Linked DNA regions of Homo sapiens: region 1 is linked to region 2. Evidence: promoter capture Hi-C in human tissues and cell types (Jung and others, 2019). All regions are on one chromosome and are shown on one strand. The core of a region is centred on a gene start or on the middle of the fragment in contact, and the rest is flanking DNA. Distances in the headings are between cores, read along the strand shown.

The links. The method cuts DNA at HindIII sites, captures the fragments that hold promoters and counts their contacts. A contact is called where the count stands out against the background at its distance.
Region 1: a contact is called between a fragment that was not itself captured here and the fragment with the promoter of MBOAT4 in region 2, in 1 of the 25 tissues and cell types used here (spleen).

Annotation. Positions count from the first base shown.
Region 1 is chr8:30,014,534-30,018,254 of GRCh38, forward strand. No RefSeq gene overlaps it. Among named protein-coding and RNA genes, the nearest start is that of MIR3148, 59 kb to the left of the region's middle. The HindIII fragment of the contact is 9,883 bases long and covers 1-3,721 here.
Region 2 is chr8:30,143,317-30,147,000 of GRCh38, forward strand. MBOAT4 (membrane bound ghrelin O-acyltransferase MBOAT4) reads right to left here and starts at 1,349. Exons shown (of 3, transcript NM_001100916.2): 1 at 1,167-1,349. The coding sequence starts at 1,285. The HindIII fragment of the contact is 8,892 bases long and covers 1-3,684 here.

The DNA of each region.
Region 1 (3,721 bases), core at 103-2,602, 130 kb before region 2:
AAAAGCGTCCTTGGTTCTTTCTAGCTGAGTCTACAAGAAGAAAACTCAGGTTAATGTTTCAATTACCCATTATACACACATATATATACAAATATCTCTATGATGTCAATATTATTTTGCAGGAATACAGTTGATAAGGGACTGAGCTGGACAAGATCACAAAGCTGATCTGAATTCAATAATTTTCAGACTGATCATTCAGACTTGGCTTAAGGTTGCTTTCACTTTTGTTTGCTACCCAACTAGCAAATGAGCAATGAAAATAATATACACAGGCTTGGCATGGTGACTCATGCCTGTGATCCCAGCACTTTGGGAGGCTGAGGCAGGAGGATTGCTTGAGGCCAGGAGTTCAAGACCAGGCTGGCCAACATGGCGAAACCCCATCTCTACTAAAATTACAAAAATTAGCCAGGCATGGTGGCTCACACTTGTAATCCCAGCTACTCAGGAGGCTAAGGGAGGAAAATTTCCCCAACCCAGGAGGTGGAGGTTGCAATGAGCCGAGATCATGCCACTGCACTCCAGCCTGGGTGAGAGTGAGACTGTTTCAAAAAAGAAAAAGAAAATAATATACACAGCAGGGTGTGGCAGCTCATGTCTGTAAGCCTGTAATCCCAGTGCTTTGGGGAGGCCAAGGCAGGAGGATCACTTGAGGCCAGTGTTGGGAACAGGCCCCCAAATCTGGCCATAAACTGGCCCCAAAACTGGCCATAAACAAAATCTCTGCAGCACTGTGACATGTTCATGATAGCCATGACACCCTTACTGAAGGTTGTGGGTTTACTGGGTTGTGTGTTCCTTACCTTACCAGGCAAGGAACACCTGGCCCACCCAGGGAGGAAAACTGCTTAAAGGCGTTCCTAAGCCACAAACAATAGCATGAGCAATCTGTGCCTTAAGGACATGTTCCTGCTGCAGATAACTAGCCAGAGCCCATCCCTTTGTTTCGGCCCATCCCTTTGTTTCCCATAAGGAATACTTTTAGTTAATCTGTAATCTATAGCAATAATGCTTATCACTGGCTTGCTGTCAATAAATATGTGGGTCAAACTCTGTTCAGGGCTCTCAGCTCTGAAGGCTGTGAGTCCCCTGATTTCCCACTCCACACTCTATATTTCTGTGTGTGTATCTTTAATTCCTCTAGTGCCACTGGGTTAGGGTCTCCACAACCTAGCTGGTCTCGACAGGCCAGGCGTTTGAGATCAGCCTGGGCAATACAGCAAGACCCCCCAGCTCTTAAAAAAAAACAAAAAGAAAAATATGGATGAGTAGACTCATCCCAGTTGCCTTCCTAAAATTCTTTACAGCCCCCAAAAATTTAATGGCTTCAGCAGGTCAAATAGAGTAAGGAACCTACCAAGACAAAAGAGCCCAGAATCTCAGTTCATTGACTTTCACAGGAATTTCCTGTCCCATTTTTAACTGCACCAATGGGCCCGCATTGGAGTGTGACCCCTGGCCACAGTCCACAATAGGGGTTGTGGTACAGACTAGCTTTGTGTCATCAAAAATGAATTAAAATAAATGGTTGATCTATGGTTGAAATGAGGAGAGTAATGTGCTATGGAAGACAGGAGGAAGAAAATGCTTTCAAACATATGAAGTGTTTTGTTTAAAAACTTGGAGAAGAGTAGAAGTTGAGTGTGCAGAGGGGAGGAATCCACAAAAGCAAGCCGGGCTCCAAAGGAAGCTGTGGGCGTGGGTTTACACTGAGAGACTGGAGCCATCTGGTGGAGAATGCTGAAAGCAACAAAGAATAATGAGAATCAGTGCAGTCTGCTAGAGAAATGAGATCCCAGAAGTGGGGACTGGAAGATACTCTTTACTTTTACATATGATGAAGTTGAGATTCAACAAATTTAAGTGACTTGCCGAAGCTGAAAGGGTGAAATAATGTCATTATTAAATGGGTTACCCTCAGATATGGTTTCAATCTAGTATGAACTGAAAAGTGGCTGATTTTGAAGAGCCTCAGTGATCAGGGAACTTGTACTCCACTCTGAAACTTTCAACACTTGCCCTTCCCTGTACTAGTCTGTTCTCACACTGCTAATAAAGACATACCTGAAACTGGGTAATTTATAAGGGAAAGAGATTTAAGGGACTCACAGTTCCACATGGCAGGAGAGGCCTCACAATTATGGCAGCTAGCAAGGGAGGAGCAGTCACATCTTACACAGCAGCAGGCAAGAGAGCTTGTGCGGGGAACTCCCCTTTATAAAACCAACAGATCTCGTGAGATTTATTCACTACCACAAGAACAGTATGGGGGAAACCACCCCCATGATTCAGTTATCTCCACCAGGCCCCAGCCTTGACATGTGGGGATTATTACAATTCTAGATGAGATTTGGGTGGGGACACAGCCAAACCATATCACTCCCTGAGCCCAGGAATCTATAAATTGTCAATCATGATCTCTAAGTCAGTCTTGATTCTCTCTCTGGTCAATATCCAAATGCACACAGTTGGATTCCCAGCTATATGTCACAACCTGCTGCCCAGCCTGAAGGCCTCCCTACAGGGAGGGAAACATAGGTGACAACTCCCCTCCTAGAGTTGGGATTGCATTCTTGACACCACACCTTTATCACTGGTGGCAATAATGGGATTTCAAATAAACTACTCTTTGGTCAAAGATTAGATGAGACTGTCCTGCCTCAACTGCATAGAAACTGCATAGAAATACCTTGTTCTCATGGGCCTGAAACTTGCAGAATGGATTTGCTGTAGATATGCTTTTGTACACATGTGAGCTTAGGCTTGTTCTATGGGCTATTACACAGACAGAAGTAAACACCATTACTTATTTCAGTAGAGATATTGTCCCTGAGGCCCAATCTCAAAGATAGATACAATTGACCAAAACAAAAACAGACAAAAATAAATAAAATGACCCCGGATTTCTTAGCTGCAGCCCATGAAAGCCACACAGACTTAACAGAGTAGGAACTTGGTCAAGGATATTAGACAATTCACATAATTGCTGAGAGAGTTAGAAAGCCAGTTGCTGGAACCATATGGGTAGAAACAACACCCAGCTATGTTGTGGGGGCTTGTAAGGAACTATCTTAGCCCCCACTGCTCACTCTCTATGCCCCTAGAGATTGAACATTAAAGAGCTTTTAGCTGGGCAGAATGGCACACACTTGTAGTCCCAGCACTTTGGGAGGCTAAGGCAGGAAAATCACTTGAGGCTGGGAGTTCAAGACCAGCCTGGGTAACACAGTGAGACACCCTCTCTCCAAAAAAATAAAAAGTTTTCCCAAGGACCAGCCATCTGTCCCCATGTTAGCTAGAAGATCAATTCCAGCATGTAGCAGAAACTACTATGCAGTCACCAAAACCCATGACTAGATCACATTTCCCAGACTTCCTTACTGTTAAATGTGGTGACTGTCTGAGTTCCAGCCAATAGAATGTAGGTAGAGGAAAAGTGCATCACTTCCGGGAAGAGCCAGTAAAAGCCTCCTGCAAGTCATCTTTTCTTGCTTCCTCCCCTGCCTGAATGGAGAGGACTCTGTGGACCTAGAGAAGGGCAGAACCACAAGATGAAAAAAGCCTTGAGCCCCTGAGTGACCACATGGAGGGCTGCATTACAAGGAACTCTCACATCAGACTCTGGAAAGTGACAAGTAAATGTACATTGTGCTTCAGGCCAGAGAAGGTAAAATTGATCTGCAGCAGCAACTGCTGTGACTCACCCTAAGGACAACCA
Region 2 (3,684 bases), core at 99-2,598:
CAGCCTGGGCGACAGAGCGAGACTCCGTCTCAAAAAAAAAAAAAAAAAAAATATATATATATATATATATATATATATATATATAAAAATAAATAAAATAAAAAATGTATTTGCGACTTTTCAATTTAACAGAAAATCATGTAGCCATGTTAACAGTACACTCACCATTTCTGTTCTATGTTCAGTTAAGTTCTTGCCTTTTGACTATGTTAAAAACATAAAATCTTATATGAGCAATCTAAAAAAATAGGTGCTGTCTCTAATGTGTTGAGGTTATTTGATATTTAAAAAATCATTACAATCAAGTCATCACATCTCTAGTGATAATTTTTGAACTTCAAATTATCATATAGCTAATCTAACAAGATTCATTTTGACTTATTTCATTTCTCTGAGAATTCATATAAAGGCACTTTAAAAATCACATTTAGTTATAATAAAACTTATACTGATGTAACTTTATATAAAATTTAATTTGATTGAAAATGATAAAATTCCATAAAATTAGGACTATTCAAGAATATCTGAGATCCATGGTTGACAGAGATGTATCCATTTGGAGAATTCCTGTACCATCGCAACAACCATCTCTCCTGAGAGTTTATTTTCACTCATCTGCCATTTAACCTGAACCCAGCAAACCTTACATCAGTGCAGGAAGGATGTGAATTTCCAGTTTAGTTTTACTCTGTTATATATATTCATTATCAAATATCAATAATCAGTGACAGTGAGAGTAAGTTAAAAACAAGTGTAATTAATATATTGTAATCTTCACATCTGCAGTCTACTCTGCTTTTTGCCCTACTATAGTATTTCTGAATTTTTTTTTTTTTTAGATAGAGGCTTGCTCCGTTGCCCAGGCTGGAGTGCAATGGCGCCATCTCGGCTCACTGCAACCTCCACCTCCTGGGCTTAAGCAGGTCTCCTGCCTCCCTCCCGAGGAGCTGGAACTACAGGCATGAGCCACCATGCCCAGCTAATTTTTTTTGTATTTGCATTAGAGACAGGGTTTCGCTATGTTGGCCAGGCAGTTCTCAAACCCCTGGCCTCAAGTGATCTGCCCGCCTCAGCCTCCCAAATTGCAGGGATTACGGGCGTGAGCCACCGCACCCAGTCACTATAGTATTTCTGGATGTAAGAGTAAAAATAGCCATCCAGCCTACCTGGCACGAGTGGAGAATGAATCCATGATGCAGAGATAATTGAAGAGAAGTGCAAAGGGAAATGCAGCCCCCTGGTAAAACGATATAGGATGGAGAAAGAACAGCCAAAGCCACTCCATTAGGAACCAGAACAAAAGAGCCTGTCTTTTCCAGTGTCCTTAACTGATGCCTTCCTCCAAGAGTAATCTCAACCAGGCTGTCTCTGGTCTTTTTATCTGGTTTAGCGGGGCTAGGGTGAGCAAAAGGCAAACAAAAGCTCTGGAGATAAGCAGAATAAAAACTGGCTTTCTGATTGAGGAACTGCACTATGGAAACCAAAACACATTTTGGTGTAACATTAATCATGACATGCACTAAAAACATTGCTTTTGGAAGCGTGGTTTTGTTTCATTGACATAGTATACTATTTACCTTTCCAGTCATCATGCTGTCGTATTTTCTTCACTAAGTTAATGAAAAATCTCATTTCCCAACTGTGGACAGACAACTCTGTGGACTGAAAAGGGGAAACAAGAATGTGACCAGGAGGAAGGGAAGCAGGTTCTTTTCTTTTTCTTTTTTTGAGATAGGGTCTGGCTCTGTCACCCAGGCTGGAGTGCAGTGGCACAACCTTGGCTCACTGCAACCTCTATCTCCCCAGCTCAAGTGATCCTCCCACCTCAGCCTCCTGAGAAGCTGGGGCTATAGGCATGTGCCACCATGCCCAGCTAATTTTTATATTTTTTTTATAGAGATGGGGTTTTGCCATGTTGGCCAGGCTGATCTCAAACTCCTGGTGTCAAGCGATCCTCCTGCCTCAGCCTCCCAAAGTGCTGAGATTATAGGCATAAGGAACTGCACCCAGCTGGAGGCAGGTTCTTAAGGCAAAAACCAAGATTCCCCTTCCTCACCACAACTCTCCTCCTTATGCTACTTTTTTTCGTATCAGTACCTCTTATGTATCTATTTCTCAATTCATTTTCCTGCCCCCTTTACAACATGAGCTCTACAAGGGAAAGACTTTGTTTTGTTGATTACTGTATCCGTAGCACATAGAACACTGCTGAATACATACTATATACCCAGTAAATATTTGTTTAAAAGATTTTGAGGAGGCTGGCTGTGGTGGCTCATGCCTGTAATCCTAGCACTTTGGGAAGGCGAGGTGGGTGGATCATCTGAGGTCAGCAGTTCAAGACTAGCCTGGCCAACATGTGAAACCCTGTCTCTATGAAAAATGCAAAAATTTAGCTGGGCATGGTGGTGGACACCTGTAATCCCAGCTACTCAGGAGGCTGAGGCAGGACAATCACTTGAACCCAGGGGGCAGAGGTTGCAGTGCGCTGAGATTATGCCGCTGCACTCCAGCCTGGGCAACAAGAGTGAAACTCCGTCTTGGAAAAAAAAAAAAAAGGTTTTGAGGATATCAAAGTGTAGAGGGGAAACATTTCAAGAGAATCTTTTCTTGACAAGTAATACAGAAGAGACTTCCTAGAGGCAAGACATCTCTTGGCTAGTAGCGATCCATCTCCTGAGCCCAGGGCATTCCAGGGCTGTCCCTGATCAGTTGTTTTCCCTCTCCAAAGTCACTTGCATGAGCAAGTTGTCAATAAAGGACAGGAAAATCTGACATGAGCATCTTCAGGGCAAGGACCATCTTTTAGTGAGAGACTGTATTCGTCCGTTTTCACACTGCTATAAAGAACTACCCGAGACCGGTAATTTATAAAGGACAGAGGTTTAATTGACTCACAGTTCTGCATGGCTGGAGAGGCCTCTGGAAACTTACAGTCATGGTGGAAGGCAAAGGAGAAGCAAGTACCTTCTTTACAAGGTGACAGGAAAGAGAAGTAAGAGCGCAGGAAGAAAACACCATTTATAAAACCACCAGATCTCATGAGAACTATCATGTGAGAATGATCACGAGAACAGCATGGGGAAACCGTTCCCATAATCCAGTCACTTCCCTTCCTCAATACATGGGGATTATAACTGGGGATGAGATTTGGGTGGGGACATAGACCCAAACATATCAGAGACTGCTCTGCACAGAGAAGAAAATCCAAAAGAATCTTATTGATTGGGGAACTTTGAGCAAGTCACATCACCTCTCTGGGACTAAGCTTCACCTTAAAACTAGACATAATTAGGCCTATCTCAACAGAACTGTTATGAAAATCAGATAAAGCATGTAAAAGCATGGCATATAAAGCTGGCTGGTTGAATGTAGCTGAAGGTAAAGTGATTGAATAATTAACATTATGAGCATTATTGGGCTACCACTTTATGACAGACTCTTTGCTAAGCACTAGGAATATGGGGATGAGTAAGACATGGTCCCTGCACTCATGTTGCTCTCAGTCTACTGGAGAGACAGAAATGGAAATAAATACCTTTCTTAATGAACTGTAGGTGCACAGGTGTATGGTAGGGGATAAAGAAAGAAACAATCACCTGCAGAAATAGGGAATCAAAAAGGATTTTGGAAGAGTGGAACTGCTTAAGTTGGCTCTCTGTGAAAGGATGTTTGCAAGCAGAT